Linked DNA regions of Homo sapiens: all the other regions are linked to region 3. The links are contacts of gene promoters, found by promoter capture Hi-C in blood cells and fetal thymus (Javierre and others, 2016). All regions are on one chromosome and are shown on one strand. The core of a region is centred on a gene start or on the middle of the fragment in contact, and the rest is flanking DNA. Distances in the headings are between cores, read along the strand shown.

Evidence for each region. Contacts are between HindIII fragments. The CHiCAGO score rates a contact against its expected background, and 5 or more counts as called.
Region 1: a fragment that was not itself captured here is called in contact with the fragment with the promoter of MTMR11 in region 3 in 10 of 17 cell types (total B cells, fetal thymus, naive B cells and 7 more); the score reaches 7.5 in total B cells.
Region 2: a contact is called between a fragment that was not itself captured here and the fragment with the promoter of MTMR11 in region 3, in 2 of 17 cell types (erythroblasts and monocytes). The highest score is 8.7, in erythroblasts.

Annotation. Positions count from the first base shown.
Region 1 is chr1:150,124,890-150,128,194 of GRCh38, forward strand. The region is part of intron 14 of VPS45 (vacuolar protein sorting 45 homolog); the gene reads left to right. Among named protein-coding and RNA genes, the nearest start is that of PLEKHO1, 23 kb to the right of the region's middle. The HindIII fragment of the contact is 1,872 bases long and covers 1,098-2,969 here.
Region 2 is chr1:150,095,538-150,098,909 of GRCh38, forward strand. The region is part of intron 13 of VPS45 (vacuolar protein sorting 45 homolog); the gene reads left to right. Among named protein-coding and RNA genes, the nearest start is that of VPS45, 29 kb to the left of the region's middle. The HindIII fragment of the contact is 190 bases long and covers 1,312-1,501 here.
Region 3 is chr1:149,934,747-149,938,518 of GRCh38, forward strand. It overlaps MTMR11 (myotubularin related protein 11), which reads right to left and starts at 2,133. Exons shown (of 17, transcript NM_001145862.2): 1 at 1,836-2,133; 2 at 1,408-1,483; 3 at 838-959; 4 at 553-613; 5 at 240-382. The coding sequence starts at 1,901. It overlaps OTUD7B (OTU deubiquitinase 7B), which reads right to left. Exons shown (of 12, transcript NM_020205.4): 12 at 3,066-3,772. RefSeq lists an enhancer at 1,399-1,923. The HindIII fragment of the contact is 11,640 bases long and covers 1,092-3,772 here.

The DNA of each region.
Region 1 (3,305 bases), core at 784-3,283, 190 kb after region 3:
AGAATTTTGTTTATGTTTTGTTTTTAACATAAGATCTATAGAGTTTTTTTCTTTAATCATTTGAGAACATTTTCCCATGTTACTAAAAAGTCTTTAAAACAATCTTAATGGCTATATAATTTTATTTTTAAGGATGGGTCTTTATTTAACTATTACCATTGGACATTTAGGTTGTTTACATTTTTTTCACCAGCATATTCAGCTGCAAGTTTACTTTTATTTTTTATTTATTTATTTTTTTGCTTTTTTAAATTTTTAATTGACATGTAATAATTTTACACATTTATTAGGTACAGAGTAATATTTTGATACATGTATACAATGTATACTGATCAAATCAGGATATTTAGCATAACAGCACATCAAACATTTATCATTTCTTTGTATTGGGAACATTCAAAATCTTCTTTTTTCTGTATTGGATATGTATTTTTTATTTTTTTTACTTTTTTTATTTATTTTTTAATATATATATATTTTTATTATACTTTAAGTTCTAGGGTACATGTGCACAATGTGCAGGTTTGTTACATATGTATACATGTGCCATGTTGGTGTGCTGCACCCATTAACTCATCATTTAAAAAATGACGAGTTCATGTCCTTTGTAGGGACATGGATGAAACTGGAAACCATCATTCTGAGCAAACTATCGCAAGGACAAAAAACCAAACACCACATGTTCTCACTCATAGGTGGGAATTGAACAATGAGAACACTTGGACACAGGAAGGGGAACATCACACACTGGGGGGAGGGGGGAGGGATAGCATTAGGAGATATATTTTTTATTTTTTTTATATTTTTTAATCATTTTTGAGATGGAGTCTCCTCTGTTGCCCAGGCTAGAGTGCAGTGATGTGATCTCAGCTCACTGTAACCTCCACCACCCAGGTTCAAGGAATTCTCTGCCTCAGCCTCCCGAGTAGCTGGGATTATAGGCGCCTGCCACCACTCCCAGCTAATTTTTGTATTTTTAGTAGAGACGGGCTTTCACCATCTTGGCCAGACTGGTCTTGAACTCCTGACCTTGTGATCCACCCGTCTCAGACTCCCAAAGTGGTGGGATTATAGATATGAGCCACTGCCCCTGGCCAAGCTTACATTTTTAATATAAATAATGCTTCAATAAACATCTTACGTACTGATAAAACTTGGTCCCCATCTCGGTGGGGACAAAGGTTTAAGATAAACGTATAGTGAGGCAGTCTGAAATATTGCCAGTAGAAGGATAAATTAGTATAACTTTCCTAGAAAGCAATTTAGCATTATATATTCTAAGGTATGGGATTAATTTCATGGCTTTTGTTGTTGGGTTTTTGTTTTGTTTTGTTTTTTTGAGACAGAGCCTCACTCTGTCGCCCATGCTGGAGTGCAGTGGTGCCATCTCGGCTCACTGCAAGCTCCGCCTCCCAGGTTCACGCCATTGTCCTGCCTCAGCCTCCCAAGTAGCTGGGACTACAGGCATCTGCCACCATGCCTGGCTAATTTTTTTTTGTATTTTTAGTAGAAATGGGGTTTCACCATGTTAGCCAGGATGGTCTCAATCTCCTGACCTCGTGATCCGCCCTCCTCGGCCTCCCAAAGTGCTGGGATTACAGGCGTGAGCCACCACACCGGCCTGTTTTTTGATTTTTAAGAAGCTCTTGCTCAAGTGATGGAAATGTTCTATATCTTGATTGAGGAGTTGGTTATACAACTGGATATATTTGGCAAACTCATCAAAGAATATCCTTGATATCAGTGAATTTTATTGTCTATGAGTTATAGCTCAATAAAAAAAATTTATATGTAGCTGAGCAGAGGTGGCCCATGCCTGTAATCCCAGCACTTTGGGAGGCTCAATTGGGAGGATCATTTGAGGCCAGGGGTTCAAGAACAGCCTGGGCAACATAGTGAGACTCCATCTCCACAAAAAACGTTAAAATTAGCCAGGCATCATGGTACGCACCTGTAATCATAGCTACAGGTAAGACAAAGCACTGTAGTACCAAACTGACATTTTCTCCTTCAAATGTTCAGAAAGATAAAAAAGATAATTTAAAATGGAATAGTTTCTCACTGCATAATTCAATGTTATTTAATGCCATGCCCCAGAACCACCTGATGTCAACTGATGTTATGACTCACACACTTTGAGGAAAACTGGGCTATTACAATTCCTAAAGCAACGGGTATGATGATAATTTGGTAAAACACTTAACCAAATTTTAAAGACAGTACAACAAAATGTAAAATATCTCAGTACTTTTTTAAGTTGATTACATGCTGAAAGATAATATTTTGGATATATGGGTTAAATAAAATACACTACTAAAATTAATTTTACCTGTTTCATTTTACTTTTTTAATGTGGCCACGAGAACATTTGTGACTTGCACTGCTTTATCCATTTAATTTTGTTAATTCTCATAATGACTCAGTGAAGCAGATTTTTTTTTTTTTGAAACAGGGTCTCGCTCTGTTGCCCAGGCTGGAGTGCAGTGGCACACACACAGCTCACTGTGACATTGATCTGGGTTCAAGCAGTCCTACCACTTCAGCCTCACAAGTAGCTTGTGCTAACTTTTTATTTTTTTCTAGAGACAGGGTCTTGCTATGTTGTCCAGACTGGTCTCAAACTCCTGGGCTCAAACAAACCTCCCAACTTGGCCTCCCAAATTGCTGGGATTACTGGCATGAGCCACCACACCCAGCCAAGGTAGATATTTTTATAATTGTTATCAACTTCCTTTTTCAGATGAGGAAATCAAAGTAGAGAGAAGTTAAGTACCTTGTCCAAAGTCATAAAGCTAGTAAGTGGTAAACCTGGAATTGGGCACAGTCTGTTTCCAGTATGAGTACCTAAGCACTCAGTTGAAATAATATTTTGGAATATTTATCTAGCTATGATATTTTTAAATCCTTTGTTTATAAATGTCACCTATAAGATAGGCAAAATATGTTTTTATCAAATGGATAATATGTGAAGCTTTCAGACTACTAAGAAATATTGTAAACCAAAGCTGGGGAAAAAATAATACAGAACTGAGGGATCATTTACTTTTATTTTAAGAATTTTATCATTCAATGATGATTAAAAATGAGATTTAAGAGACAGTGTTGCTCTTTGAGTAAAAATGACTAACTTGGCCAGGCATGGTGACTCACACCTGTAATCCCACACTTTGGGAGGCCGGGGCGGGCAGATTGCTTGAGTTCAGGAGTTCAAGACCAGCCTGGGCAACATGGTGAGACCCTGTCTCTACCAAAAATACAAAAAAATAGCTGGGCGTGATGGTGCGTGCCTGTGGTCCCAGCTACTC
Region 2 (3,372 bases), core at 157-2,656, 160 kb after region 3:
TGGGAGGCGGAGGTTGCAGTGAGCTGAAATTTGCACCGTTGCACTCGAGCCTGGGCAACAGAGTGAGACCCCATCTCAAAAAAAAAAAAGCAATCACACTATGATTAGGAGAGAAAGCATCCAAAGCAGAGGGAAACACCAGAGCAAAGGTCTTGAAGAAAGAGAGAATTTGGCAAGTTAATGGAACAGAAGGGAGCCCTGCTTGGCTGGAGCATAGTGAATAAGGAGGAAATAAGAGGTTGAAAGATAGGTAGGGTTGGATCACATCGGTTCTCGAAGACCCTAGTAAAGAGATTTTTTTTTAATGTCATAGGAAGCCATTGAAGAGTTAAGCATATGAGTAACATGAACTTAATTGTGTTTTAAAAGATATTTGTGGTAAGAATGGATTATTGAAGGCAAAAATAGAAGCAGAGAGACTACTGAGGAGATGAATGCAGTAGTCCAGGTGAGAAATGGAAGTGGTTTGGGTAGGAGGCTGAGAGAGAAGCCAGAATCAATAGTCATATTTAATGGCACAGATTTATGGAACAAGGGTAAGAGAGAAGTCAAGAATAACTCTCAGGCTTTGAGGAGAAACAGAGTTTTGTTGTTCAGTTGGAGATGTCTATTAGATAACAAGTAGAAATGTCACATATTGAGAGTTGACAAAAACATTAGTAATATTAAAACCTCTGGAAATGTTGAACTGCTCCAGATTAAACATGGAAAAGGCAACTAGTTGGGGAAATGGAAACAAGAGGAGAGTGTATTGGATCATGACAAAGGTATTGGTGAATGAATTGGAGATTTGATGAGGCCAAAGAATTATTACAGAAGAGTATTAGTACAGGTAAATTGGAAGTTGAGAGGTAGTTATTGGATAAAGATATTTTGAATTCAAGATTTCATAGGGGGTTCAGATACTTGTAACGAAGAAGTTTAGATTGTAAGCATGGATGTGGGTGGTTGTAGTGGGTAAAAGAAAAGATCAGGATTGGTAAGGAGACCAGGATGTTAGATGAGTAATCCACAGTGATGTTAAAGTCACTGACAATCTTGAAAAGAGAAGGAGAAAAAGGAGGACAAATAAGCCAGAGCTAAAGTCTTCATGGAATAAAAGTGACCAGGAAAGGAGGTCAGGAGAAAACGGTGCAGCTACATTATGAGCTTCTAAGATAGTGGAAATTTTGAAGGAAGAAGGCAAAGAAATGGTTACAAAACTACAGTGGGTGTCACAGAACATACCTATACCACCTCCTGGCCATGCCTAACAGAAGGAATACTGCAAAGGACTTGAAAATACTCTTATTTACCAATTCTACTTCTAAAAGCTTACTGTATAGATATTCCTGTGCAAGTACACAAAGATACTTAAGCCAGGATGTTCACTGAAGTAATAGCAAAAAAACTAGGAACAAGCTAAATATCTATTAATAGAGGGCTGGTTACCTAAACTACAGTACAATATTACGTATTCTTTTTTTTTTAAATGACATAACTCCTCACGGGTGATATGCAAAGCTTTTTAAGATATATTAGATAGAAAAGCAGGATGTTGTAACATTTCTTTCTTTTTTTTTTTTTTTGAGACAGAGTCTTGCTCTGTCACCCAGGCTGGAGTGCAGTGGTGCCATCTCGGCTCACTGCAATCCCCGCCTCCTGGGTTCAAGATTCTCCTGCCTCAGCCTCCTGAGTAGCTGGGATTACAGGTGCATGCCACCATGCCTGGCTAATTTTTGTATTTTTAGTAGAGATGGGGTCTCACCATGTTGGTCAGGCTGGTCTCGAACTCCTGACCTCGTGATCCGCCCGCCTCACCTCGTGATCCGCCCGCCTCGGCCTCCCAAAGTGCTGGGATTGCAGGCATGAGCCACTGTGCCCAGCCATAACATTTCTTTCAGGTAAAAAAACTGTATAATCCTGGGTGCAGTGGTTTATGCCTATAATCCCAGCACTTTGGGAGGCCGAGCGGGCAGATTCTTTGAGGTCAGGAGTTTGAGACCAGCCTGGCCAACATGGTGAAACCCTGTCTCTACTAAAAATGCAAAAATTAGCCAGGCGTGGTGGCATGCACCTGTAGTCCCAGCTACTCAGGAGGCTGAGTCAGGAGAATCGCTTGAACCAGGGAGGTGGAGGTTGCAGTGAGCCGAGATTATGCCATTACACACCAGCCTGGGTGATAGAGCAAGGCTCCGTCTCAAAACAAAACAAAACAAAACAAAAAAAGTGTACATGTATATAAATATGTGCTTGACTATACATATGTATGTATATTATATATATAATATATTTTCACAAGCACATATATGTATAAATACAGTAACTCTTTTTGTTTGTTTGTTTGTTTTTTTGAGACAGGGTCTGGCTCTGTAGCCCAGACTGGAGAGTGGTGGCGTGATTTCAGCTCACTGCAGCCTCCACCTTTTGGGCTTAAGCCATCCCACCTCATTCTCCTAAGTAGCTGGGGCTACAGGCACATGCCACAGTACCTAGCTAATTTTTGCATTTTTATAGAGACAAGGTTTTGCTATGTTGCCTAGGCTTGTCTCAAACTCCTGAGCTCAAGCAATCTGCCTGCCTCAGCCTCCCAAAGTGCTTGGATTACTGGCATGAGCCACCATGCCCTGCCTACAGTAATTATTTCTGAAAGAATAATCAAGAAGTTGTTAATAGTCGTTACCTCTGGATATTGAGACAGTAGTTAGTTACATATCTATCCTTCCTATTAGTTATTGTATTAGGTATTGTAATCTTGAAGTAAGTATTATGTTTTGTTAATCTTTGGGGTTTTCACAATGTTTAACACAGTGATTTACAAATAATAGGTGTTCAATAGATGTTTGGTAAATTCTATAGGCATCTCTTCTAGTTGATATGCCAATATTTATAGTTGGAAAATTTAAACCAGAGAATAAACTTAATTGATGCTATACAAAATTTAGATTTTTGAAGTTCATAAACAACCCTTTAAAACATTCTGGCTCTGTATTCACTTGGCCACACTATCAGCTCTAGCCACTTTCTTGGCCCTGTATTATCATATTGAAAAGAGTCCTTGATTATAGTGGTATTTATTATTATTTGTCTCATCATAATAGAAATTCTAGGTTTTATTGTTGCTATAATAATAGAAAATATCAAAGGAAATGTGGCAAGAACACAACTTTGCAAAACCAGAACACTGGTGGAAATTTTTTTAGCCCTTAGCTGTTAAATTAGTGTTTAAGCTGTTTGGCAGTATAGCTATATCCACAAATTGGATTTGATCATTCTGCAGATGGGATTCTTGCATACCCTATTTTTCAAGCTAATTTTTTTTTCTCACTCTAGAATTGCCTCTTGTCTCTGATAAAGGCAAGCAACTTTTTCATTTGGTGAGGAAATGGAGCT
Region 3 (3,772 bases), core at 883-3,382:
TTTTTCAGAGGAGGAAACTTGCCCACAGTCACACTGCTGGTAATTAATAGAGTAAGGCTAGAGCGCAGGCTCTTTACTCTCATCACGCAATCATTTATCCCAGCCTTTTAGCCTTTCCTTGAGAGAAGCAGGGGGAATGATGAGAGGATCCCAGGGGCTGGAGGAGTCTCAGAAATTGTCAGGGAGAGGATCCCAAGGTTCTGAGGTGAGGAGAAAGCCTCAGGTTAGGGGCCTCTTACCTGAAAAGCCTGAGGCTCTAGGCCTCCAGCCTCAAAACCAACTCTGAGCAGCCGGAAGTCTCGGCCATGAATCAGAATCTCCTCAGGGATAAATTTATGCAGGGACCCTGGACGGAGGAGCTGGACTCGGGACAAGCCGCTCACTGAAGTCAAGAGGTACAGAACAGTGTAACCATGGACCAGAGTCTCTCCAGAAGGGACTCTTGCAGCCCATCCCACTCCATCCCTGCTGTTTTCTGAGAACAGAGGAAGGATGAGGAGGGAGTTCCAACAACCCCAGTGAACCCCTTCACCAAACCCCCCCCCAACTTACCAGCCTCTAATCGTCCAATGTTGACCAGGGCAAAATCGTATTCACTGTTCAAGGGAGTGTCCTAGACGAAACACGTGACTGGGTAGACATCTGAAATCGCCCTCATTTTCCTACCCTGGCAGCCCCAACCCCTTCTAGGGGGCAACAACCCTAGAGAGAGTTCCCACTGATTATCAATGATACATTCAAAAGACAGCCCTTAACCCATAATGTTTGTCTAAATCCTGCTAGACTCCCCTACCCATTTCCCACTAGCTGTCATTTCTGTGGCCCCAACCATCTCACCTGATTCCACTGCCATCCACAGGGCTGGAAGGTGACCCTAAAGTTGGTACAGATCAGGGTTCCAGACAATTCTGGTTCCAGGCCCTTCCTCACCCCTGGGGCCCATGCTAGGATCTGCTCCCCTAAAGGGGAAGAAGGGAAGCCCTGTTATGACTGTTCCCAGTGTTGCCCACACTTGGATACACCCACCCCTCCAAGAAAGGGAGATCTAAATAGGGAAGATTAAAATCCTCCCCAAAGCCCACTACAATGTAAGCTTATGAGGAAAGATAAATGTTTTTTAATTTCTGTAACTAGAACAGAGCCTAGAACAAGGCCTGGCACATAGCAGGCACTAACTATGTATCGAATAAGTAAATTTGAAAAGGGGTAACAGGGTCAAGGAAACAGAAGGAATGTCAAGGTCCAGCTCTCAGCCAGCTCTAGAGGCTGTCAGGGAGGACAGCGAGCCTCAGGCAGACGTACTTCGAGCCACGAGAGGAACACAGGGGTATCTTTGGTGAGGGCATGAAACAAGATTGGCGTAGGATGAAATTTGGAAGTCTTTGGAGAGTGATAGGGCATTATTACCTGGGAGGCATCTGGAGGCCAGGCAACTGCTAGGCTGACGACTCCTGGGCTCCGGCATCCTATTTTCCTGGACAGACTTTGGTCCAGAGGGTTGAGGGGGGTCTAGAGTTAACCCCTAGGCTCCCCAACTCCCCAGAGGCAGCTGCCTGTAGAGGCCTACACTCACACTCTCGGGGGAAACTGAGATCAGTGTCTGTGGGGAGCTCCAGACCTAACAGGGCTGGTAAACAGTAAAGGGAGGGGCTGGTTAATGGATAATGAGACAACGAACTTGAGACTGAGAAAGACGGACCAGGCTCCATCAGCAGAAGCTGATAGACAGACACACCCTCCTCCTCCTCCTCTAGAGCCTTTGCTTCCCCCTTTTATCTCCACCTCATCCCCGTTCTCACCCTCTTGCCGACACCCCCCAAATTCCTTCTCCTTACCCCCATCTCTGGCTCCTCCTTCTGGGGGGCAATGTTGAAACTCTGGCCCCGGCCCCCCCACCACATTTCTCTGGCTCCATCCGGGGACACAGCAGTTAAGGGTGGGAAACCTCAAGGATGCTCACCCACCTCGGGGAGAGGCTGAGTCTTGTTGAGAAGAGGGGTGTTAGGGAGAGGGGTAGGGGGTTGGACACAAGGGAAAGGAGCATTTGACGTGCACGGAGCAGAGTTTGGGGGTCCTTGGAAAGGTGTGTCCAGCCCAGCCTGAGAAGTCTCCTCGGAAACTTCAGTCGACTCTGGAGAGGGCGGGAGAGATGCCCAACCCCTTAAAGGAGAATACACACAATTCTGGAAAAGTGGAGAGGAAACGGTGGAGTCTGAGACGGACGGGTGGGGAAGAAATGGGGACTGAGAGAAAAACGACTCCCTTCTTTACCCCAATCCCAGACCCTGTTCTCTTCCTGTTCATGAGTACTGGAGACCGTTTGAGGGGAGCAGTTCTATTGATTATGAAGCTGGAATCATCTGGGCTACCTGTCTGGAGTGTCTCAGTGATGACTTCCCTTAAAAGCTCCGTTCTTTTGTCTTCTCAAAGGGGTTTGGGGCGGGGAGAGGGGTAGGAATGTGAAAGTGGTTCAAGCCTCCTTGCCGCCTCTTCCAGAAGAAAATGAAAATTAGACCTGGGGGGATTTTTGTCAGCAGAGGCCCAAGAATTAGGTGAGGAAGCAGGGAAACTGGTTAAAGTGGTTTTGCATATCTTTCTCTAGAGGGCATGACACAGACATCATGTGAAGACTGCAGTGGAGAAGTATAAAAAGAGATGGAAATGTGTCCAAGATGCAGACACAAGTACAGTTTGTGTGCAAGTCTTGGGGATGTGGGTGGGACAAAAAGATCTTACCAGTTAATCTTGCCCATCACGTAGATACACAACCAATAGGCAATAAGTGCCCATTCCCGTATGTGACTCCACCCCTCCAACCCAGACACCAGATCTCCAAATGAATGATTCATGTTCAGGACTTTCACAGGTGAGGGCTGGAAACCTCTCTTCAGCTCAGCAGTCCATCCCCCGTCCCTCCCATCTGCAACCCTAGAAGCAAAGATGGGTAAGGAAAGCTGGGAACAAGGAGAGAAGGAGCTGCAGCTCCTTTAAAGGAGGGGGACTTGGGGACAGCAAAGCAAAAATCTTTATTTAGACATGAAAAAGACAGAAAATAAAATACAAAATAAGAGTTAATGAGCTGCTGTTTTATTGCTTTTGAATCTACAGAGGCAGCAATCCTTAGATGGGGGCCCCAGTTTTCCAAAGTGACACTCAATTTTCCCCTCCCCCCAGTACACCACCCTTCTGGCCTCAGCTTTCAGTTTCCTGTCTTGGCTGCAACTGTGGAAATAGTGAAGATATTGTGAGACAGAAAGTCAGTCTGGAACAAAGAGGTATACACCTGCTAAGAAGGTGGCCCAGAAGCCTGATTCTAGAAGTCCTAAAGGCTACAGAGCACCACCACCCCACCTGCCCCTAATGCATTCCATGGGCCTCAACCTCTTGGGGGAAGAAAATATTTCCCAAGGTCTGTTGTAAAAAGAAAATAGGGACCAGGCGCAGTGGCTCACGCCTGTAATCCCAAGCATTTTGGAAGGCCAAGGCAGGCAGATTACTTGAGGTCAGGAGTTCAGGACCACCTGGCCAACATGATGAAGCCCCATCTCTACTGAAAATACAAAAATTAGCCAGGCGTGGTGGCTCACACCTATAATCCCAGCTACTTGGGAGGCTGAGGCAGGAGAATCGCTTGAACCCAGGAAGCAGAGGTTGCAGTGAGCCAAGATCTAATGACTACGCTCCAGCCTGGGCAACAGAGCAAGACTCCATCGCAAAAAAAAAAAAAAAAAAAAAGACATAGGAAGAGGTGTGTACCATAACTTTTAAATCC